Linked DNA regions of Homo sapiens: regions 1, 2, 3 and 5 are each linked to region 4. The links are contacts of gene promoters, found by promoter capture Hi-C in blood cells and fetal thymus (Javierre and others, 2016). All regions are on one chromosome and are shown on one strand. The core of a region is centred on a gene start or on the middle of the fragment in contact, and the rest is flanking DNA. Distances in the headings are between cores, read along the strand shown. Region 1 overlaps LEKR1 (leucine, glutamate and lysine rich 1). Region 2 overlaps LEKR1 (leucine, glutamate and lysine rich 1). Region 3 overlaps LEKR1 (leucine, glutamate and lysine rich 1). Region 4 holds the start of TIPARP (TCDD inducible poly(ADP-ribose) polymerase). Region 5 overlaps LEKR1 (leucine, glutamate and lysine rich 1).

Region 1 (5,220 bases), core at 931-3,430, 280 kb after region 4:
ATAAACTTTAAGATGATTTCATTCACCTCTAATGCCAACAAGGATTCTAATTTGAATTGCATTATATTTATAAACTAAGTTTTAGAAAATTAAAAATTTTGGTAATATTGTCTTTTGAATATTGTAAGTCTTTTCATTCAAAAATATGGTATGCTCTTTCATTTTTAATGCTATTATATGTTCTTTAATAAGATGTAATAGTTTTACTTAAATATGTTTCTTTGCCATTCTTGTTAAATTTGTTACTGTCAGTTTTGCCTCTACCATAAATAGACTATTTTTCCTATTTCAATTTTTGTTGATAGAGTAGACAAAAGCTATTTATTTTTATATATTTGTTTTATATCCATGCACCTCACAAAATTCTCATATTAATTCTACAGTAGACATTTTTTATTAGTGACTCTTGGGCCTACAACTTCCCAAAAGAGTTCATCTATTTTTTCCCAGTGTTTATATCTGTTATTTTATTTTCTTGTCTCCTTCATATCTTATTAAATTCATCTGAAGCTCTGACACTCTGTTAAATAATAATGCTGACAGTGAACGTTCAATCTGTCATTGATGGGCACTTAGGTTGATTCCATGTCTTTGCTATTGTGAATAGTGCTGCTATAAACATTTGCATGCATGTGTCTTTGTGGTAGAATGCTTTATATTCCTCTGGGTATATACCCAATTATGGGATTACTGGGTCAAATGGTAGTTCTGCTTTTAGCTCCTTGAGGAATTGCCATATGGCTTTCCACAATGTTGAACTAATTTACACTCCCAGCAAGTGTATAAGTGTGTCCTTTTCTCTGCAAACTCACCAGCATCTGTTACTTTTTGACTTTTTAATAATAGCCATTCTGACTGGTGTGAGGTGATATCTCATTGGCACTTGATTTGCATTTCTGTAATAATCAGTGATAGTGAACTTTTTTTTCCTATTTGGCCTCATGTATGTCTTCTTTTGAGAAGTGTCTGTTCATGATCTTTGCCCACTTTTTAATGGGCTTGTTTGGGTTTTTTTCTTGTAAATTTAGGGTACTTTTAGATCCTTGATAATAGACCTTTGTCTGCTGCATACTTTGCAAATTTTGTCTCCCATTCTGTAAGTTGTCTGTTTACTCTGTCGATAGTTTCTTTTGGTGTGCAGAAGTTCTTAAGTTTAATTAGATCCTATTTGTCAGTTTTTGCCTTTGTTGCAATTGCTTATGGTGTCTTTGTTACTAAATCTTTGCCCATTCCTATGTCCAGAATGGTAATTCCCTAGGTTGTCTTCCAGGGTTTTTATAGTTTTGGGTTTTACATTCAAGTCTTTAATACATCTTGAGTTGATTTCTATATATGGTATAAGGAAGGGGTCTAGTTTCAGTATTCTGCATATGGCTAGCCAGTTATCCCAGCACCGTTTACTGAATAGGGAGTCTTTTTCCATTGCTTGTTTTTGTCAGCTTTATCAAAGATCAGATTGTTGTAGGTTTGCGTTTTTATTTCTGTGCTCTCTATTCTGGTCCATTGGTCTGTGTGCCTGTTTTCGTACCAGTACCATGCTGTTCTTTTGGCTTCAATATTTACTAGCTGTGTTATTTTGCATAAGTTAAACTCCTCTGGGCCTTAGTTTCTTTATTTACAAAATGGGTATAATAACAGTCCCGACCTTCTAGGGTTTTCACAAGGATTTTACAAGAATTCTCAAGTAGAGAATTGTATTTTACTTCATATTTCAAAGGAACATTTAGTAAGACTTGATCACATACTCAGCATAAAGAAAAGCTGTTTGTTTCAGTTTACTCACATTTAGTTAAAAATTGCTACATCAGTTTTCATAATAGAAATAGGCCTTTATTTCTTTATTTTAATATCTTTGTCAGATTGTGGTTACAGGTCACTATGGCCTTGTAGAATGAGTTGGGAAATATACTTTAATTTTTGGCTCTTTCTAAAACATTGTATAAAATTAAGATTCTCTGTTTCTTGAAAGTTTGGTAGAATTTGCTTAGAAAACCATCTGGCCATATCTTTGTGGGAAGACACTGCTTCAATTTATTTAATAGTTACAGAACCTTTTGATTTTGTTGAGTCAATCTTAGTAACATATATTTTTGTATTAATATATCCATTTCACCCAAGATTTCAAAGCTGTTGGCATGAGGTTGTTCAGAGCATTATTTTCTTATTATTTCTTCTTCTTTATTTGTAGTTACTGCCCCTTTTTCATTTCTTATATTGTTTTGATTACTACAGCCTGGTAGTATAGTTTGAAGTTGGATAATGTGATGCCTGCAGCTTTGTTCTTTTTGCTTAGGATTTCCTTGGCTATTCTGGCTCTTTTTTGATTCCATATGAATTTTTAAATAATTTTTTCTAGTTTTATGAAAAATGTCATTGATAGTTTGATAGGAATAGCATTGAATCTGTAAATTGCTTTGGGCAGTATGGCCATTTTACTGATATTGATTCTTCCAATCCATGAGCATGGGATGTTCTTCTATTTCTTTTTGTCATCTCTAATTTCTTTGGGCAGTTTGTAATTCTCATTGTAGAGACCTTTCATCTTCCTAGTTAGCTGTATTCCTATGTATTTTATTCCTAGGAATTTTGTGTGTGTGTGTGTATGTGTGTGTGAGTATGTAAATTGTAAATGGGATTGTGTTCCTGATATGGCTTTTGGCTTGGCTGTTGTTGGTGTATAGGAATGCTAGTGATTGTACATTGATTTTGTATCCTGAAACTTTGCTAAAGCTGTTTATCAACTCAAGGAACTTTTGTGTCAAGACTGAGGAGTTTTCTGGATATAGAAACATGTCATCTGCAAACAGAGATGGTTTGAGTTCTTCTTAACCTATTTGAATGCCTTTTATTTCTTTCTCTTGCCTGATTGCTCTGGCTTAGGACTTCCAATGCTATATCGAGTAGGAGTGGTGAAAGAGGGCATCCTTGTCTTGTTCTGGTTTTCAAGGGAATACTTCCAGCTTTTGCCCATTCAATATGATGTTGGTTTTGGGTTTGGCATAGACAGCTCTTATTTTGAGGTCTATTCCTTCAATACTTAGTTTATTGAAAGTTTTTCACATAAAGGGAGGTTGAATTTTATCAAAAGCCTTTTCTGCATCTATTGAGATAATCATGTGGTTTTTTTCTTTAGTTCTATTTATGTGATTAATCACATTTATTGATTTGCATATGTTGAACCAGCCTTGCATCACAAGGATGAAGCCTACTTTATCACGACGTGTTAGCTTCTTGATGTGCTGCTGAATTTGGTTTGCAAGTATTTTGTTAAGGATTTTTGCATTGATGTTCATCATGGATATTGGCCTGAATTTTTTTGTGTGTGTGTCTCTGCCAGGTCTTGGTATCAGGATGATGCTGACCTCATAAAATGAGTTGGGAAGTTCTTCCTCCTCGATTCTTTGGAATAGTTTCACTACGAATGGTTCCACTTCTTCTTTGTACCTCTGGTAGAATTCAGCTGTGAATCCATCAGCTCCTGGGGTTTTTTTTTGGTTGGTAGACTGTTTATTACTGATTTAATTTCTGATGTTGTTATTGGTCTGTTCTGGGAATCAATTTGTTCCTGGTTCAGTATTAGGAGGGTGTATGTGTCCAGGTATGTATGCATCTCTTCTAGGTTTTCTAGTTTGTGTGCATAGAGGTATTTGTAGTAGTTTCTGATGGTTGTTTTTATTTCTATGGGGTTAGTGGTAACATTTTCTTCTTCATTTCTAATTGGGTGTATTTGGATCTTCTCTCTTCCTTATTAGTCTAGCTAGTGGCCTATCTTATTAACTTTTTCGAAAAACCTACTTCTGGATTCATTGATCTTTTGAATGTTTTTGTGTGTCTTTATTTCCTTCCATTCAGCTCTGATTTTGGTTATTTCTTGTATTTTGCTAGCTTTGGGGTTGATTTGCTCTTTAATAGCTTAGAATTGTGAGATTCTAATGCTTCAAATAATTTTTTACTATTGGGTATAGTATAAGGAATGAACAAATCAATTTTTCATCTTTGAGTGTATGAAAGTTGTATTCAAATGAATTACTTGTACTTGTCACTTGAAATAGTCAAAATGATATATAGGGTTTTGATTTTATGAACTAGAAAAAGTAGGGAATTGATGTGGCAAGCTCTATTTAAAGATACACTCTTGCATTCTTGAGAAAACTGAAATTCTTCTCATATATCCTGGATTTTCCTCTCGACCTGGAATAGCTGCTGATGGGATGGCCCCAGGAGTTGTAGATTCCTGGAGACTTTTTAGAACTAGAAGCTATTTTTAGCTAAATGGAGGCACATCGAAACCATGTGAGAGTAGTAGCAACAAAAATGCATTTTTGGAATTTATTATACCAGGAGCTGTTAATGCTGACAATATAAATACTTGTGAAATTCTTTAATGTATAAATGATAGATTCTCATGAAAACTGTGAAGTTTTGGAGTTTAGCTTTGATCTTTTTTCCTTCAAAAACGCTGTCAAAGCTAAATATTTCAAATATTTATAAGATCAATAAAAAACGAAACTACTAAGGTAGTGATTTTCATGTATCAGATTAACAAAACCCAAAAGTATGATAGCAGATTGGGTTGGTGAGGCACTCTAATACATTTCTGGGTGGACTATAAATTGGTACAATTACTCTAGAGACTAGTTTTCAATATTTGTCTGAAATACAAATGAACCCCCTTCCTTTGACCCTGGACTTCCTTTTCCAGGAATTAACATGTAGATATGCCTTCTTATAAATGAAGTAACAGATTTGCAAAGTTATTCTTTGAAGCATAGTAATACCAAAAGACTGCAAGCAACCTAAAACATCATGATAGGTGACTGGTTAAATAAATTGTGCAGTATTCAAACAGTAGAGTCCATATAGCCATAGAGAGAGAGAAAGAGAGAGACAGAGAAAGTTCCTTGTTCCTTGGAGAGATAGAGAGCTCCAAACTATATTGTCAAACAAAGAAAGGAAGATACATAACATTGCATATGCACTGTGGTATAATTTGTATACAAAATATGAAGTGAAATATATGTGTATTATTATTTACTTGTACTCTCTATAAATTTTTAAAATCTTTGGAGATATATATACAAGAAACTAACTACAGTATTTATTATTTGGAGGCAATCAGAATTAGGTGAATGAGAGATGAATGAGGGGAGTCTTTAAAAAAAAAAGCTTTATTTTTTATAGCAATTTGAGATTTACTGAAAAAAATGAAAAGATAATATA
Region 2 (4,758 bases), core at 326-2,825, 300 kb after region 4:
ATCATCCATAGTTAACAAGTTTTAAAATTTTGCCATAGTTGCACTATAGATTGTTAAAGAAGAAAAAGACAATTAACACTTCCATTTTTACTCCTCCCCATACAAAGATAGCTACTGGTGACACCAGGTCCAAGTGCAAAAACAGCATATCCTCAAGGTGAGAAGTGATGAGATTCAGGGCAGAAGTGGAAGAGTAGCCTTCATGCCACCACCAATGATAATAGCTAACATGTGCGTGTTACTCCCAATGTGCCTGCAACTATTCCCCTTCTTTACATACATTAAGTAATTTAATTATCAGAACAGTCCTGTATGATAGTGACTATTTTACAGATAATGAAACTGGAGTTAACAGTTAACAGGAAGCAGAGCCAGGATTTGAAATTAGGCAGTCTGGCACTCTAAAGAGCTCCTGCATGACACCTTTAAACTATCCTGTCACAGACAAGTGTTGAGTTCTTGTTTTTCCTTGTCTTCAATTACCTATACAATAAAAAAGTACAGCCTTCTATTTTACATTAAAAAAAAAATTTCCCTGATCTCTGGGTGCCAGTTCATCTGCCTGCTTGTTCTTCCATTATGCTACTTTAACCTGGAATCATTTTCCTCCACATAGCACTTTGAACCAGATTTTTAAATGTTTTGCGTTTCCTTTATCCAGTAAGTTTTAAGCTTGAAATAACTTTCCACTATATAGGTTTTAGTTACTGTTTTCTCAAACATTATACTAACTTAATGTGCCCTCCAAGTGACTATGAAGTTTTATATCAGCCTATAAAATAGCTAATTATGAATACCTTTTATATTTGTAGTTTCTAGAAACCTGTAGGGATAGCAGGATTCTCTTAAATGACTGATTATCCCAAATCTGATGCCTGTGTAATGCTATCCAGCAAACAGCTGGCTTCATATGAAGAGAGGTTAAGAACTCTTTCTGTCTTGTTCATTTAAAATCATTTACTTCTTATTTAATATCTGCAAAGAACACAGTCACATCATAGTAGAATTTACTGTTGTAAATTTTTTATTGTTTCCATGGGTTCTGCCTTACATCTGCATGGTGTTTAAAGCCAATGCTTCCTTTATTTTTGTAGGCATTTAGGGCCTTGTTCCTCATAATCCAATGTCATGCTGAGTGACAGAAAATTAAAGTCGAATTTCTTTAACTATAGAGAAGGACTGGGCAGAACAATAATACACTTATTTAACAACTCCTTGCCTCAGAAACTGAAGGAGCTGTTTTGTGCAGGTGGCTTAATCTCTCTGCAGCTTATCCTAATGGTGTTTCTTTATTTATTAAGGACAGGAACTGGGCACTCTGCTTCTAAAAACAAAAGGACCAGACTAGTCTACCAGAACCTATAGTGAACTAGTAGGATGTTTATATTTCATTCAGAAGAGCAAAGCTTTGAATTAGCTGCCATTTTTACTGTCTATTATTCTACTAATTCTCAGGTAATTGAGAATTAACTGCATAAAATTACATATCAAGTACCAGTTCTTTGAAGTTCATTTTAAGATAAGTCTTCCTTTTAATTTATAGCTGCATTTAGAAGTAATAACATAAAATTTATCATATGGGCTCAGACCTATGCTTCATCTAGTTTAGGATCATATCCTGACAAAAGCACCAGGGGCCATTTAATAGTAAGGTGTGATTGTTCTCTCTGATGAAATCTTCTCATGGAATCAGTCACAGTAACACCATAATTTTATTAATATTTTTATTAACTATAATATATATTTAAGCTTTCTAAAACTAAAATCTAAACCACCTTTTGGAGTTAGAAATTCTACCAGTTTACTGCATATTTCATTGTTAAGTAATTCTTTTCATTTGTCTTAAGTATACCTCTTTAAGGATTCTGGGAATATGGTAACAGATTTGTAGCCACACTTACCACACTCTTATGGACAATATCATATTCTCTTGCAGCTTTTATATCTCAAGAGTTTATATTTCAAGTGTGAGAGATATAAGAACTTTAGGATCAGGCAGACCTGAGTTTGAATTATAGGATCTAACTAGCTGAGTGACCTTGATAAGTTAATTACTCTAATCCTTAGAGTTTTCTTGGTAGTTGTGACTATACATGAAATTATATGAAATCAATAAAACCTAACAAGTATGGGTCATCTACTCTACACCATTACCTAATAAGTTTTTTCAGACCCGGGAAGGCTTATTGCATGGAATACAGATGGAGCCAGTGGACCTCACAGTAAACAAGTGGAGTTCACCCGTTTGGCTGGGAATTCTTCCTCTCTGAAGTTCCCATCCTTGAACTGGAGAGCCTCTCCAGAGCTGAGCATGCCTTCTTCCAGCCCATGATGAAAAATACTCACTCTCTTCTCTGGGCATGCAGCCCTTTGGCGTGCCACTCTCCATGCCACCGGTGATGGCAGCTGCCTTCTCCTGGCACAGAATACAGAGCCTAGGGATCCTGCCTGGTGGTGGTATGGTCTGTCCCCTTTATGTAAATGAGTTACCTCCAGCAGCCTCTCATTGTTTCCTTGTTGGAGGAAATGGAGAATTCAAATAGTAGCATGCAAGTACCTGTAATTGAATCATATAAGAAGCCTATAGCATAGGAAAAAAAATTGAACCTGTGATCAAACAACAGAGGACAGATTATTATCCTGAAGAAATGTCACCCCCCCTTAATGAACTCAGTGCCCACCCCTTGCAACAAGCATTGTTGCAAGAGAATCTCCCTTAGGTCATAGTGCAGCCTGGGAAGAGACCTTTACTGATGGAATTGGTGGATAACTCAAAGGAAGCAGAGGATACACAGATGTGATTATGACATATGCAACAAAGTATACACTAAAAGTTTCCACGTGAAATCATACAGAAGAACACACACAGGAGATAAACCCTACAAATGTACATGGGATGGATGCATATGGAAGTTTGCTCTGTCTGATAAATAAGACATTTCTGAAAACATACTGGAGTCAAATCTTTTTGGTGCCTGGACTGTAACCACAGCTTCTGTTCTGACCATCTTGCCTTCTACAGGAAACGCCACATGCTAGTCTGAATGCCTTTGTCTCCCACCTCAACATGACTCCCTACTCACCTGGCTCTTTCTCTATACTCCCACCATTATCTATCACACTTTTTACATGTACATTTTAATTTTGATTCAGCTGGTCTGATCCTCTGAATTTATATCATCCAAAACTTCCATATGGTCAGTAGCAGGTACTCTCTAATCCTCCCTCTCCTTACCATGGGTGACCTAAAAAATGAGAACTTTTTTTAGAGATGCTAAGCAAACTATTCTTAGAGATAGATAAAGTTAATGTAATAAGAACAAGAAAACATGTAAACTAAGAAACAAAAATTAATGTATGTAAAAGCACTGGATAAACAAAGGTTTATACAAATGTCTGGTAAATGCTAATTAAAACATTTGTTTAGAGTGAATTTATTTTCTAATTTAAGGAACTAACTCTTTGTAAAATAAAGTTAAGAATGCCGATTTATATAGTTTTATGTATTTATATGGATGCATAAAGATTTTAAAGTTTACTATTAAAATATGTCACTGAAACACCTGAACAGATGGAACATAGAAATTTTACAACTCCAGTGTTTTGAACATTTTTTTTCTGGAGACACCAACCAGTCTATCAGTTTGTTTTCCATTATAACTTATTCTCAAAAAGCGTACCAGCAAGGGCTGTCACTGGGGCTGGGGTTCAGATCACAGTTTCCACACACAGGACAATGGAAGGACTTAGATAATTCAAGCCATTTGTTCTTTCTGCTATGGTTTCAGTTCTGCATTCACACACTTGTTAGACAGGGCTGCTTGAATAATAATCCTCAAATACTGCTTACATTCTCCAGTTAAAGACTCTATGGAAGCCAGTTTCCTGCTTGTATTCTCTTGGTTTTGAAAGTCACTAAAATGCCTTTTAGATGCTACCCAGAGTTAACACGTTCTTTACTATGAGCCTGGAACATGATTTGTCTGTTTTAGTTCTAGCAGGAAGACTCAGCCATGCTTCACAGTTCCAGACCACAAAAGTGAGCTCAGGCAATCATGTGTTTTAGAAACAAGACACGTGATCAGAAATTCTTATGTTTGTCAGCTACATACATTTCCTTTGAAAACATTAGTAAAATTTAGCCTATTAGCTGTTTGAAAATCAGCATGGTGGTGGGGGCAGAAAGAGGCCAACAAATTGGGCCTGTCAAAACCCATTAAGTCTGTGGGGTGTTAGGATAGGGAGGGCTGAGTAGGCAATGATAAGTTGCATATGGACATACAGGCAAAGTGGAATAAGCAGCTGCCTTATTCTTCAGGAGCTGACTAGCAACAAAAGAATATGGTTTACTCTATGAAAATATCTGGACACTTAAAATGTACTAATCAGATGAAATACATTGTGTCATTTCAGATTTACAATGTCTAGTAGAGGCACTTGGATTAAAACTTCAGAAGGCGGTGACAGAGATGGACAACTATAAAGAAATGCTTATGTAAGATGGAGAATATTAAACAACTTATAACAGTGCTCTGTAGATGTGTTACAAAATGGCAAGAATTAGGAAGAAATGACAAGAATTATAAAGACCCTGGTGTGTTCTCTGTGATTCTTTTGGCAGTGATTTACTGGTGTGGGTAATAGTTTACTGCTGCTTTTCTTGCCCACTTTACTGGCCTAGATTATATATTGAAGAACCTGTAAATATTTTTAAATACATGGAGGATTTCTTTCTCTCAATAAGAAACTTACTTATCC
Region 3 (5,173 bases), core at 320-2,819, 320 kb after region 4:
TAAAGAGAAGAATTAACCTTGCAGAAAATGAACTGGAGATAACCAAAACTCTTCTGAATCAGACAAGGGAAGAGGTTTTAACACTGAAAAATGAAAGGTGCAGTAAACAATAATTTCTTACAAAAACATTTTATGTTTAAGTTAGTATTCCATATATATTTGCAACATCAGTGTCTGACATATTATAACAATAGTGAAATCACAGGACTAAAGATATATTTCTCCTACAAGGTCATTGCATCCCACCACCTCATTTTACAAGTGATTAGACTGAAGCTCCAGTTGGTTACATGACTTGGTAAAGTTGCAGTTGGTGAAAGTAGGAATGAAGCCCAAGTTGCATTTGGTGTCAAATTCTTCTTGAAAAAAAAAAAAATCAGACCACGTGTGATACTTGTACTACTAAATTTCACCTGGGTCAGTGATTGGTAGATTCTATCATTTTTCCAACAGAAAAGATCTTTTTATATCACTTTTTCCTTCTATTGGCTCCTACTTTTCTTCTCTCCTCCTTGTCTGTCAGCACATCTTGTTGGAGGATATGGCACAAGCAAAGATACCTCCTTAGGTGGTATCGAGGATACTAAGAAGTACATTGGTCCAGGCTTCCAAGATACTTTTGTTTAGTTAATTTGTGTTTAACCTTATCTGTAATTAATATTTCAACCTTACTTTCTTTCTTTTTGTTTTCATTTGCCTGCTATGTCTTTGCTCATTCTTTCTGAATCCTTTTGTTTTAAATGCATATCTGATATATAGCACAAATCTTAGGGTTTTTTTGTTTCATTGATTTAAAAATCTGGGCTTCTTTAAGAGATTATTTCATTTACATTTACTGATATAATTATTATATTAACTAAGAACACAAGTTTCATAAGGGCAGGAATTTTTGTTTTCTATCATTTTCTGTGCACAGAAGGCACATGATAGGTTATTTGTTTTTCATTCTTCCTATCATTTTTATATTTTAGTTTATATTTTATTTTATGAATATAATTTAGAAGAGTTACAATCTTTTTTTTCTTTGAGTCCTCCTTTGCAAACCTGTTTGCTGAGTCTGGGGGTGGGGACCAGGGTAGTGGGTAGCAGTTATCTTAGAATTAGATTTTTTTGTCTCAGAACTCTTTCTTGCCAACACTGTTCCCTGGGCACCAAATCTGTTTCTACACCAGGCAAGCAGGAAGTCTGTGTAGTTCATAGGGAAACAAGGCTTATCTCTCGTCCGTCCTGGGATGATTTTATAATTACTTATATTTTATTGAATAAGATTAGCAACTGCAGAGCTGATATCCCCCCACCATTTACTCTTCACCCTTCAACACCGAAAATGTACCCTCTACTTAACTGACTATTCCACCCCACCTCCTCTGCCATTTATTAGAAGCTGCAATTTTATAACAATGAAATGTATAAGAGCCAGGCTTATTAATAAAAAAAGGAATGATAGTTGAAAGATTCAGCATGTGTAAGCAGAGATAAAACCTATATATGCTAACGTATATAGTCAGAAAGATTAAAATCAGTTATGTATTCTATACAAAAGACACACATCATACATCTTTGAAAAGACACCATGGAATAAATACAAATTTTCAAAGTATTTGGTTTAGAACTTTGGTTATCTGAGCAGTGCCTATATTACCCAGAATATCATATTTCCAATGGTGCCAGATTAATTAGGCTTAATTGTTTAGTCAGATGAATGCTGTCTCCTTCACTGAAGTCATTGAGAAGAACCTGTCTTTGTCTAATTGTTTCTGGAACTCTTCTCCAAGGACTGGCTTAAGCACATGTTTTAGACTCTCGTCAGTATGACAGATCTTTATCCTTTAGGAATACACTGAATATTTGAAACAGTCTCAGATAGGTCCAGTGAAAATAAGTCCAGTGAATATGATGGGAAATCAACCTGGGAAATACTATTGGGGATCAAAAATAAAGTAAATTTTTCCCCTTTTTCTATGCTTAATAAATTATCTCTGACTGCAGTTTGAAGAGGGGAGTTTTATGAATGCTTTGAGGATTAGTAACCTCAGTAGAATATATATATAGCTTTCTTGGGGAATTGCTTTGAAATAGCATTCACTTGGATGTATATGTTTTGCCATGTTTTTAAAAAAATTATTATGACTATAATCTTACCCTCTAAATGTTGAATGAGAAGGACAGTTTCTATCAGCTTTCAGAGAATAGTGACATCACTGACCTAACTCCTATTCTTCTTCTTTTCCTTTCTTTTTTTTCTTGTATTATTGCCCTTGTACTTTCTTTATTCTCTCTGCTTTAGTCTATCCAGAATATACATGTACTTAGTAATTGGTGACACTAAGTTTACAGACATGATGTCTGTCACATAATAAAAATAAAAATGACAGACACGGTGGCTCACACCTGTAAGCCCAGCATTTTGGGAGGCCAAGGCAGGCAGATCACTTGAGGCCAGCAGTTTAAGACTAGCCTGGCCAAAATGGCAAAACCCCATCTCTACTAAAACTACCAAAATTAGCCGGGCATGGGGGCTCATGCCTATAATCCCAGCTACTCAGGAGGCTGAGGCACAAGAATCACTTGAACCTGGGAGGCAAAGATTGAAGTCAGCTGAGATCACGCCATTGTCCAGCCTGGGCAACAGAGTGAGACTCTGTCTCAAAATAAATAAATAAATAAATTTTTTAAAAATGTCCTTGTAGACCAGTAGGTTATCATGTGATCACAGGGTTACTCCTAAACATAAGCGTTGCCTTCTTCTTTTTTCTAGGCTACTTTCAGATTTTGTCTGCCTTGTCCTCTAACTGCCCAGAGCCTGCCACACATATCCACTCAATAAATATTTGTTGCATGAGTGAATGAATGAATGGATCACTTTGGGTAATTCAGCCAGTCTGTCAATTATTTGTTGGGCATTTATTATATGCCAGGTACTATGTACCCTGGGTACATAGTACATAGCTTATATTTTAAGGGTAGAGACAAACAGTAAAACAAAAAAATAGAGAACTGACTAGAATAATTATAAATTGTGATAATGGATATGAAGTAGTAAAAATTGATAGAAGAGGTGCCTGCTTTGGCTAGGGTGGTCATAAAAGTGACTTCGAAGATGATACTCTGCCCATTTCCTAAAGGAAGACAAGTGGAAGTTACCAGGCCAAGAGCCAGGGAGGAACTTTTACAAGCAAAAGACAAGTTGGTGAGTTCTGGGAAAGGACAGCAGGGTAGCGTGGCTAGTGGCATAGTAAGTGTGAGTGATGCAGGCAGGGTCACATCATGCAGGGCCTTGCAGGCCTTTGGGAGTTTGGGTGCTGTTTTCAGTGCAATGAAGAGAAACCATTGAAGGTATTTAAGCAGAAGAGTGACACTGTAGAAAAATCATTCTGGATGCTGGACGGAGAAGGTATTGGCAATGGGAGCAAGTCAGGACATTTACTGTTTTGATAAAGGATTTTATAGGTAGTGAAGCTTAAGAGATATGAGAAATATGAGGATCTCCAGCTCCTACACCCTGTCAGTTTCTGTTGGGTTAAGTGTCTATGTCAAGTGGGTAGTAGTAAAATAGCCATGGCTTACTCCATGGTGAGCCTAAGGGTTAAAAAGATCTTCTCATTCGGGCATGGTGGTTCATGCCTGTGATTCCAGCACTCTGGGAGGCCAAGGTGGATGGATCATCTAAGGTCAGTGGTTCGCGAACAGCCTGGCCAACATAGTGAAACCCCGTCTCTTCTAAAAATACAAAAATTAGCTGAGTGTGGTGGCGGGTGCCTGTAATCCCAGCTACTTGGGAGGCTGAGGCAGGAGAATCGTCTGAACCTGGGAGGCGGAGGTTGCAGTGAGCCGAGACTGCACCATTGCACTCCAGCCTGGGCAACAAGAGCAAAACTTCATTTAAAAAAAAAAAAAAAAGATATTCTGAAGAACAAATGGCCTTCAGAAGCTTTTGACATTACTGTCCTAACTTGTCTTGAAACGGTGGTCTTTTGGCTCCAGGGCAACCTGTTATTCGGTCTCTTTTCTAGCTCTGTTTTGGTTCTTTCCCCTTCCCTCCTGTGATCACCTGATTGCAGACATTCCTTAAAATTCACAATTGAACTTGACTTTCCTCTTTCCACTTTTTTCCTTCAGTAAACTGACCCTGTCTCAGCTTAGCAAGTTTGCTCTTGAAGCTTTGATTTGAAGCACCAATGGGACTTTTAAATAAGAAATTTCCTTAAGCAGTTGGAGGTGTGAACATCCCTCCAAAAGAAGCAGCTGGGCTCAGGAAACACTTTTAATATAGAGATGCTTGATAATACCCTAGGAGATTCTGGTTCAGTAGGTCTGGGTAGGGCCTAGGAATCTGCCACTTGGCAAAGTACCAAACCACTGCTGTGGAAGTATTACAACCAACCAGGCTACCAGATGTGCTCACCAAAGGCCAGAGCCCCATTCACTCCCACTGACTTTGTGTGCTTTCATAAATCCAAGCAGTGTCAGATACACACCAGCCTTCCTCCCTGACCCCTCAGGAGAGCAGAGCCCTTACTGAGGTCACAAATTGTGCAGTTTAGAAGCTGTGTATTTCAGAAGAGAAGAAAACGATGTAAAAAGCCAGAGGTGACCCTAGAAAAAAACTAGCAGAACTTCTGAATTTGGAGAAATAAGGGAATTAGTAACTAGCAAATAGTTCATTGATTAGTACAAATCTATTTATTTGGGCATTGCTATCTTCCCCACACTCAGCTGAGGAAGTGAAAGGTAGGGAAGAATCTTCAGTGAAAGGAAAAGAAGTAGGTCTTCTCGAATCATGGGATTCTGCAGGTAAAGACAGTCTGGCCAGCTTGGTCACGGACACACTGGGACTGGTGAAAGGGGTTTCCTTTATGGATGGAGAGGGATGCAGCAAGGCATAAGGATGATGTCAGAGAAAAGTGTGGCCATTTTTAAAATTCTTGTAAAGACAGCCCTCAGCTCCCATCCTACTGGGACACAAGGTCTCGGTGGCCAAGGTCAGAACTCTGCCCAGAACTGTGAATGTGCAACACTCCTTCAGGCATATTGTGGGTTAAAAAGTGTCCTGTTGGCTGACAGGGGCACCTAATTCCATCCTTAGGGAAAACTATTTCTATAGTAAAATATGTCTTAAATTCTCTATAACAAATGTACAAATATATTTTATAAGGACATATGTGTTTAAGCT
Region 4 (4,618 bases), core at 109-2,608:
ACTAAAAGCATAAAGAATGTATAACAACCTAATTGTTACAAGGGAGTGGAATTAATAATCTACAAGAAGGCACAAAAGGACAGAAAAGAAACAGAACAAATGAGAAAAATAGAAAGCCAACAGTAATATGGTAAACTCAAATATTAGCTTCTAGGCAATTCTATGTATGAGTAGACACTGACCAAGATCTTGTCTCAATAAGATTTTAAATGTAAAGATTTTCATCTTTTACCTATTGTCCTCTGAATTCCGCCCATATCATTCTCACCTTAGTTTAATGGCCCTGCCTTGATGCAATTTGAAATAAGCTGCTAAGGAGATAACACCCTTAATCTATTCATTGCTGGTGCGCTTACCCAGTCTGGTTTAGAACCGTTTAACAAAGGCTTAGAATCATAATGTCTATGATTATTACCTCTTAGCTCCTAGTTTTACTGACTTCCATGTCTGGAATTACCAGCACTTCTTTTTCGTACATATGGATTATATGAACTAAATGTATTGTTTCTTCCCTCACTACTGAAAATCTATTCAATATATGGAGTTACAATTCAAAGTATTTTACAACCCAGAAAATATGGCCATTCCGTATGTGGTGTGTATTTCAGAGGTGCTCTGCAAGCTCCATGAGGACAGGCGTGAAGTTCAGGCTACATGCCTGGTACGTAATAGACGCTCTGACAGACATTTGCTGAATGAATAAGTTAGTCACTACGGCGTTTGTGGGCTTTAAAACACAAGTAAATGCGCTTCTATCGCCAAAACCTCACAGCTTCCCTTCTGCAAGGTGGCGTACAAGGCCCACGAAATAGTCGGCCGCCGCAGGTGCGCAGCCTGTCCAGCCTGTCCGGCTCGGGGCAGGCGACCTCGTCTGGTGGCAGTGGGGGAGGCAGCCGTTTGCTTCCTCACAGGGTGTGCCGGAATCAGAGGCTGGAGGCGTCTGGGGAGTAGGCAAATAAACAAAGCCAACCGCACCGAAACGGGTCGTTCCGTTTCACATCCTCCCTCGGGTGTCTGGGTCTTCTCGGAACAAAGTGACCCTCCATCTGTCCGCAGGCAGGTGGAGCCCGTCCCACGCGGCACGCGCCTTCCTTCCTCACAGCCGCGTGTAGACGCGGACCCTCAGGGACACTGCGGACGCGAGAAAGGACACGCCCCCTCGCGGGAGCATAAGTCCACCGCACAGAACTCGCGCGCCTCCCCTCGAACGAACGCGCACGCGCGCGCAGGGGGCGGGTCTTCTTCCCGACACCCACTGAGCGCCCGGCCTCCTCACCCCACCCCACCGAACTCCGGCCGCCCAGGCTCCGCCTCCGCGACGGGCCGTCGGGAGGAGGCGACCGGAAGCCACTTAAAGCAGAGATCGAGGTGACAGGCGAGCTGGCTGGACTCGGAGCGCGGTCGAGGCTTTCTGCGTTCGCGGCGGCGGAATGGCCCGTGCGCGGCTCGCCGCGTCGCGGCTCTGTGGTCCCTAGACGTCGGCTCCCGCCCTCGGCGCTGATCTCCGGCGCGGGCACTGCTTTCCACTCGGCTCCTGTCGTCCGTTCTCTCAGGCTCCCGTTCAGGTAAAGGGCTCCGGGAGGGCACTGAGGGGCTGAAGAACCCTAGCGGGGAGTGCGAGCGCCGGCCTCGCGGCTCCGGCCCCGGCCCCGGCCCCGCGCCGGCAGTGTGCGGGGCTCTCGCGGATCGGGGTGATTGATTTTGAGACTGCCCTTTGTACCGAATTCACTCGGGTCCCGTCAGCATGAAGATGGAATTGGTTTACACTTCTTAGGCACTTAGAGCCTGTGGCAGGTGTATACATCAGACCGAGGCGCCGAAGGATTTAGTTGGGGTCGCAGGCGCCTGCCCCTTCCCCGTTCGTCAGGGTGGGGGCGCGTCTATGCGGCCTCCCCCGCGGGCCGACCCCGGGTGCTCTGAGGCGCCTAGGAGCCCTTCCCAGACCCCGGGGGGGAGGGCACGGCAGCTACGGGAGCCTTCCGGCTACCCCGCGTTTCGGGCTGCAGCCCAGAAGTTTGGAAGATGTTTTCACATTAACTTTGAGAGCGCACAAGTCTTCGTCTTCCTCCCCGCCGCCGCGGGAAGCGCTCGCCGCCTTTCCCCCGCGCTTCGCGGCTCAGTTCTGCGAGCCCCCAAGACCCGTTGGACGCTCCTCGGGAGGTGAGCTGAGGGGGTAAAGAAGAATTAGAGAGAGAAGGCGCCGCGAGTAGTCTCTGGGATGCAGGGAGGCCGGGGCGGGTCGTTGGTCCGAAGGAGGCTGGACAGGAGTTGGGGGGCGCCCAGGCGCCTGCTGAGGGGAAGGCGGGGGCGGGGACGCCCGGGAACACCCGGAATTGCAGAGCCGGGCGGCGCCTCAGCTGCACTGCGCGGAGTTGGCGCGGCCCGGGACCAGGAGCTGAGCAAACCGCCGCGGCCAACAGGAGGCGTCACTCGGACCCGGGCTCGGCGCCGGGGTGTCGCGCGGCGGCGGGCGGGCAGGCTTTGGAGCGGCAGTTTTTTCGGAAAGTGCTTTTGGCCGGGAGTGCCGCAGAACCCCAGCGTCACGAGGTGAGGGGTGTCGCGGTGTGTCGCCTGCCGCTGGAGACCGGAGGATGTGTTCTTCTCATCTTTATTTTTCTGTTATGAAAACTAATTGAGGAGCTAGGTTCTAGTGGCTTTCCCCCTCCAGCCACTTCTCCAGTTCTCTGCTTCTTCCTCCCAGTTTTGTTTCCGAGTTTGATGAAAGGGCAATAATAGGAAAAGTTGCGCGCGCGCGCTTGCGTGTGTACGCGCAGACACACATATAAATAAAATCGATTTAGTGTCTATTTTACCTTGATTGGGTTTGATAGGAGTGGTTAGAGAGTGTGCGCGTGGGGAAAGCACAGGCCGGTTTGGTATGGTGGAGAGGGAATACCACAATCTGTGCCAATTGTGCCTTGAGGCAATAACACCAAATGATGAATAATAACGCCTGGCTTGGCTCCTTTCCAGTTGATTTATGTCTCATGTCAGATCCCTCCTTCTTCGTGAAGCTTTCCCTAACAATGCCAGCTTACAGTGAACTCTCCTTTTTCTGCCTTTTCCTTTTGTACTTATCATGTAAATTTAATACTTCGTTATAAACTGCTTTGTATTTTACTTTTCTGAATTTGATGGACTTCTTACACATAGATTTATGACTCTCCAATTAAATTTTTAATATTCACTTTTGGGGACACTCAGTTTTACCTTTTGTTGTTGACCCACAAACAACAAAGAACTAAGCATTTAATATGTGCTTTTCTTAACTAATTCAGCCAACAAAATATATATGGAACACCAGCTGTGTGCATTGTGGTAGCTAGGCACTTTATTGGGCACCTAGGATGCATATTTGATTAAGTCATGGGACCTTGCGTCACAGATCTCTTTCAGTTTATTGGACAAGAGAGAAGAGGATTAATTGCTCATCACCATTCCTTTCTCACCTGGCACAATCTCAGTAAATGTTTTCAAATTTCAGTTTTTTTCAAGGGGTCTGATTCTTGGAAGAAAGGACTTTTTCGTCTCTTTCAGTAGTTGATTAGGAATCTGAAATTTGGTGTGTGTTTTATATTTTTTTTTTATTTTTCTATAGTATGCCTTCATTTGCTCTTTAAAAATGTATGTATGTAACTTTTCTGAAGGCAAGAACTAGGAGGCTTTTTCTGTGTTACCAAGTTGTGCTTGTCTTCTGACACATCGTGCAGTGGTTGTTGCTAATGGGGCTTCTGTTACTAAACACACCCTTGTATTCCATCAGAAGCGGTAATGTTTTTGGGGGTTGTAAAAGTAGACTCTTAACATTCTTGGATAGTATATTAGAGCTTTCTGAATATAGAAATGCTTAACAGACTCCTGGCTTTCTCCCATAGAACATTTCAATTGAGAGCCCCTGTTACTTGTGTATGTTCTTATACCCTTAAATTGACTCACTGTTTTAAGTTTGAAGTTTATCTTTCATTTGATGAACTTTTAAAGAAACTTTTTGTCAACTCATGAGATAGGTGATACATAAACAACTATAAAGAGAACCGCAAAGCTGAGTGGAAATGTGGTTTCCCTGCTGTCATCATCTAGATACAGTTATTTCTACCTCCCATTTCCCACCCCACTCTAACCTTATAGTAGAAATTCTTAACCTAGCAGAATTGCAAACTCTTATGTATTCAGTCCACAAATGCATGCCAATGGCCTGTTGAAAGACTCTTCTACTTTTACCTGCTGTGTGCTTTTGAATAGCCTTGGGTGCTTTGGAGCCTTAATTTCTCGATAAAATTTAAAATTGACTTGTAAAAACTAAATATAGTATAAGAGGAATGGTTTCAGGGAATCAGTCAGGACAAAAACAAAACATTTTAATGAATGAATGAAATCCAGTTGCTGTCAGTTTGTAAATGATCATCTTCCTTCCTTTCCTCGTAGGATTTTTAGACTCTGAGGAGCAGTTGGAGCTAATCCACATTATGGAAATGGAAACCACCGAACCTGAGCCAGACTGTGTAGTGCAGCCTCCCTCTCCTCCTGATGACTTTTCATGCCAAATGAGACTCTCTGAGAAGATCACTCCATTGAAGACTTGTTTTAAGAAAAAGGATCAGAAAAGATTGGGAACTGG
Region 5 (4,622 bases), core at 1,605-4,104, 350 kb after region 4:
TTTTCTTGAGCTTCTCAAAATAGTTTGTTGCTCTTTTATTAATAGTGCCAGAGCATCTTATGAACTATTAATGCTTATATTATTCACTTATTGATTACTATTAATATTTAAGAACTATGTGACTATTAATTATTAATAATTAATTAATAATGGAATGTTATTGATTATTAACTTTTATATTAATATTATACCTTCCAATTTTTCCAAATGTATTACATTTGGTTTCTCCTTTCATATATTCTTGACTTATCTATGCCAGAGTGGCCAAAGCACAGTGATCAAATGAGAAAAGTAGTGGAAGTCAGACTGGAGGAATCCAGGACTGCCACCATACACAGTGTTTAAGTTGCACCCTGCAACAGGCCAAGGCAGCAAAGCGAGATGGAATCTAGCCTGTACTCTGCTCATCAAGTCCTATGACTGGCATGAGACTGTTTTCATCTAAGGATGGGGTGCTTTGTCAGTTTACACAAAGGTGTCATATGGGCTAGTAGTCGCCCCGTAAAAGGCCATATACAGGAGTTTTGATATATTAATGCACTGAGAAACCACGAAGAAGGAATAAAAAAATCTAATTTATAGTTTGTAAAGAATACTGTGCTGTGTGTAGTAGCATGGGTTGGAGTGAAGCAGGAGTGAAAGTAAGGAGGCTGTTCAGGAAGTGATGGTGGCCAGAACTAGGTGATCAGGAAGTGCTGATGAAAGTTGAGACATAGAGAAATGGATGCAAAGCATCTTTTGAAGGTAAAATGAATAGGATTTTGTGTTGGATTGGGTGGGGAGGGTAAAGGAGAGAGGTATGAAAGATGATGTTCCAGTCACTAACTTGAGTAACTAGATGGATGGTAGAGCTGTGTCCTGAAATAAGAGGGAGAAACAGGCTTTGGGAAGAGTGTTGTTACAAGATTTCTGGGCCATACAATTCATTGGAGGCACCTGTGAATTATCTAAATGGCTACCAGGAGGCAAAGTGGATTTAAGTACCTGAAATTCAGAGGAATATCTTCTTTTTTTCTGAGTGCCCCCTGAGACTTCCTTTGTCTTCAGCAGTCTGAGAGCAGCCCATCTGAATAATTCTGTAATTCTGTAATGTTGCTAATAAATCATCAGTAGCCTATTATCCCAAACAATCCAGAAGTTTATTTTGAAAGAGCCAAAATAACTCTTTGCATTCAGTACTGTATAAACATAATTACATTCCCTTAAGGCAGATGCTTAGTCCTATACCCAGTACAATAAAACCAATTGACCCCACACTGGGGCTAGTCTTCCATCAGTATTTTATTTAATGTAAAGGGCTTCCTTTAACTTTCTTAGCAATATTTGTGTCCTTGTACCCTGGCTTCATTGTTCTCTTGAGAAATTTAGGTTGACCTCTTTCCCTGTCTTGGTGGCCTAAATCACACAGTCACCATCAGTTGTGAGTTTTTCTCCCAATTTACCTGGCTTTACCCTCTCTTAGAGTTTATAATCCTGGCACAGTATAAATCTAGAGCCAGACTGTCACTGGGATTTCCTTTTCCAGTCTCTCTAGATGAACTCCCAGGAGTAAATGACTCCAGTTCTAATAGATTTCTTCTCTTTCTTGTTTCAGTAGGCAGAGCCAAAACCAATGGTTAAAAACCACATGGAGAGAGATGTTGGCTCAACTACAGGAAAAACTGCCTAATGCTTAGTGCTGTCTGAAAATGGAAATGCCTTCTGGGGAAGGAGTGAGTTATGGTTTCTGGAGGTGTGAGGCACCCAGCAGTCAGTCATTTAGTATGGAGTCAGTAGTAGAGACTGAAGGGTCAGAGTGTGGAAGTACTCTCCACTGACTGTTAAATTCCTACTCATGTTAGAGCTTTACACAGAAGCTTTGCCTCCTTTAATCCTCATAACAGCCCCTAAGGGAACTCGTTATAACCCTACCAGGAAGGGTTACAGTCACAAACTTAAGATCACTCAGTTAGGAAGTAGCAGAGCCAGGATTAAGAGCCAGGATTTAAACTCAACTTCATCTGCATCTAGAGTTCTTGCTTATTCTTTCCACAATTCATGGAAACATGAGAGATTGAATTAGGAGATTTCTAAGGTCCCTTCTAGCATTATGATTCTATCTGAGTCAAAGTATGGATACAGATGCTCTTCACCTTTCAGTGGGGTTACATCCTGATAAACCCATCATAAATTGAAGGTATTGTAAGTCAAAAATGGGTAATCTGTAGACATGATGGAATGTGAAAACACAATATCTAAAAAATACTGGCAACACAGTACATACACTGTACAGTATCAGCTGTTTGCCCTCATGATCACATGGATGACTGGGAGCTGTGGCCCACTGACACTGCCTAACATCCCAAGAGAGTATCATACTTCATATCAACGGCCCAGGAAAAGATCAGAATTCAAAAGTTGAAGTATAGTCTCTACTGAAAACGCATATTGCTTTCTCTCCATTATAAAATCGAAAAATCATAAGTCGAACCATTGCAAGTTGGGGACCATCTGTACGGACATTACTGACTCTTTTCCTTTAATCATCCTTCCCACTTTAGTCACATTAAAATGACAATCTGTGACTTCAAAACTTCTATGACCTCCATCAAGAAAGGGCCACTTGAAAAATCAACATTTGTCCTTTGTGTTCCCTCTGAGTTTTAAGCAGAACTTAGTCTAAGGCCCTCAAAATCTGCTTAAAAACAAAAACTTCAATTTTCTGAGTTGCTGGCAAGGACTGAGTTCACAGTATAAATGAGCAAGTAATTAAGCTTTTAGTATTTCTGAAAACTGTCATATAGTTGTAACTCCTCTACTAATTTTTCAGGTCTTAGAAGGTGGTGGAATATTTGGCACAAGGTCAATTTTTCTGGCCCAAGTTCTAAGTCACACTTTTTTTTGAACACTAGAATTTTTAAAATAGTTTAATTAAAAATTTAATGTCAGAACATTTTAAAACTTAGAGTTTGAAAATAAGCTTAATGTACTTATTTTAAGGTAAAAATAGTTTTACATGTGCTTTAAATGCCATTTCTAGATTGAAGCAGAACTTGCCAAGGAAAGGGCCCAACACTTGGTTGAATTTGAAGAGCAAGCTCTTCTCTTTAAGGAAGAAACAAAATTGCAACTTGATATTGAAAAAGAAAAACACCAAGATGTAATCCAAAAGTATAAGAAAGAACAAGAGGAACTACAAATGAAGGTCTGTAATTATGATGTTCATCATTATTTAATAGATTTGAAACTGCAGATGTTGTATATTTCGCCTTAGAACACTACAGTATTTATAATTCCAGTAGCTTTCACTCATGGTCACTGTGTCTTGGTTTTAGCTATGCAGGTAAGACGGTTTGGCTAATTCTCCAGAATGGATAACTGAGATAAGTTATACAAGCATGTAATCCAGCTATGTATGGATTTTTTCTACTGGAATAAACTTATTTTTTAAACATCATAAATTATATGACTAAAAATTAGTACGGCTAGATATTTCAACACCTCAAATATCCAACATTGAAAGATAATGAGGTGTTTTATATAATTAAAATTTTCCCAACCACTAAAGCATATACCCTTTAATTGCAAATATTTTTCATTCTCAACATTTCTGAATGAAGAGAAATATTTTTAAAATGTAATTACACCTCCCTAAATTTCTTAAACAGTATGTTCTAAATACTAAAGGTTTTGTTAAGGTTTTCCTGTTTTTATAGGACTTGAGTGTAGAGTGTGTATGTGTGTGTGTGTGTGTATGTGTATTAATCAAGACCTAGTGGGGAAATAACATTTTGAATACATGCATTAAGAGTCTGTGTTAATTAAGCATCAGACAAGACCTAATGGCTTCTACATTTGTGTACAGGAGGTATGGTACATCCATTTCAGTAGTCCATTGTGAACAACAGGCAGCACCAGCTACATGTGTACAACCAGTGCAATAGCACATGGTCCCACACTCAGAAAGGCTTCATGCTTTGGATTTATTGCTTTGCAGATACTACCTTGAAATTCTTAATAATCTAACTGGGCATGGTGGCTCATGCCTATAATCCTAGCACTTTGAGAGGCCCAAGCAAGAGGATCACTTGAGGCCAGGAATTCAATACCAGCCTGGACAACATAGCAAGACTGTCTCTATTAAAAAAAAAAAAGACTTAATTAGCCTAGTGTGACGGTTCATACCTGTAGTATGTTCATACCAGTGTATACCCTGGCTACTTGGGAGGCTGATACAAGAGGTTCACTTGAACCCAGGAGTTCAAAGCTTCTGTGAGCTATGATCATACCATTGCACTCCAGACTGGGCAACAAAGTGAGACTCCTTCTCTAAAAGAAAAAAAAAAATCTTAGTGATTTTATCTTTGAACTTCTGTTTTGTAAGTGAAATCCTACTGTGGCAATGGAGCATGTGCCACAAGCTTAGAGCCTTGGCTCCCCCAAGGTTCTGCCTCCCCTAGAGGGTTCTCACCTCTTGCTTCCTGGCTCCTGATGCCCCAGGCTCCACCGAGTCTCCCCCTTTCTTCTTCCTCTCACTCTGTGACTGCTGTTGCAGCCCTGGGTGGTTCAGGATCCCATCAGCAGGAGAATGCAGACAGGCAAGCTGGAACTTGCCAAATGTTACAGTTTCTTAAGAGAAGTCA

Evidence for each region. The method cuts DNA at HindIII sites, captures the fragments that hold promoters and counts their contacts. A CHiCAGO score of 5 or more calls a contact.
Region 1: a fragment that was not itself captured here is called in contact with the fragment with the promoter of TIPARP in region 4 in 1 of 17 cell types (total B cells); the score reaches 6.2 in total B cells.
Region 2: a fragment that was not itself captured here is called in contact with the fragment with the promoter of TIPARP in region 4 in 2 of 17 cell types (total B cells and naive B cells); the score reaches 11.6 in total B cells.
Region 3: a fragment that was not itself captured here is called in contact with the fragment with the promoter of TIPARP in region 4 in 2 of 17 cell types (naive B cells and total B cells); the score reaches 8.7 in naive B cells.
Region 5: a contact is called between a fragment that was not itself captured here and the fragment with the promoter of TIPARP in region 4, in 2 of 17 cell types (total B cells and naive B cells). The highest score is 15.6, in total B cells.

Annotation. Positions count from the first base shown.
Region 1 is chr3:156,948,008-156,953,227 of GRCh38, forward strand. The region is part of intron 6 of LEKR1 (leucine, glutamate and lysine rich 1); the gene reads left to right. Among named protein-coding and RNA genes, the nearest start is that of LEKR1, 120 kb to the left of the region's middle. The HindIII fragment of the contact is 5,967 bases long and covers 1-5,164 here.
Region 2 is chr3:156,974,781-156,979,538 of GRCh38, forward strand. LEKR1 (leucine, glutamate and lysine rich 1) reads left to right here. Exons shown (of 13, transcript NM_001004316.3): 7 at 4,414-4,495. It also overlaps the pseudogene KLF3P2. Among named protein-coding and RNA genes, the nearest start is that of LINC02029, 100 kb to the right of the region's middle. RefSeq lists an enhancer at 3,865-3,994. The HindIII fragment of the contact is 343 bases long and covers 1,405-1,747 here.
Region 3 is chr3:156,993,181-156,998,353 of GRCh38, forward strand. It overlaps LEKR1 (leucine, glutamate and lysine rich 1), which reads left to right. Exons shown (of 13, transcript NM_001004316.3): 9 at 1-97. Among named protein-coding and RNA genes, the nearest start is that of LINC02029, 86 kb to the right of the region's middle. The HindIII fragment of the contact is 3,776 bases long and covers 1-3,457 here.
Region 4 is chr3:156,673,232-156,677,849 of GRCh38, forward strand. It overlaps TIPARP (TCDD inducible poly(ADP-ribose) polymerase), which reads left to right and starts at 1,359. Exons shown (of 6, transcript NM_015508.5): 1 at 1,359-1,565; 2 at 4,426-4,618. The coding sequence starts at 4,467. It overlaps TIPARP-AS1 (TIPARP antisense RNA 1), which reads right to left and starts at 2,482. Exons shown (of 1, transcript NR_027954.1): 1 at 1-2,482. RefSeq lists an enhancer at 855-1,154 and silencers at 1,565-1,614, 1,645-1,714, 2,085-2,444. The HindIII fragment of the contact is 8,735 bases long and covers 1-3,012 here.
Region 5 is chr3:157,021,741-157,026,362 of GRCh38, forward strand. LEKR1 (leucine, glutamate and lysine rich 1) reads left to right here. Exons shown (of 13, transcript NM_001004316.3): 11 at 3,020-3,184. Among named protein-coding and RNA genes, the nearest start is that of LINC02029, 58 kb to the right of the region's middle. The HindIII fragment of the contact is 206 bases long and covers 2,752-2,957 here.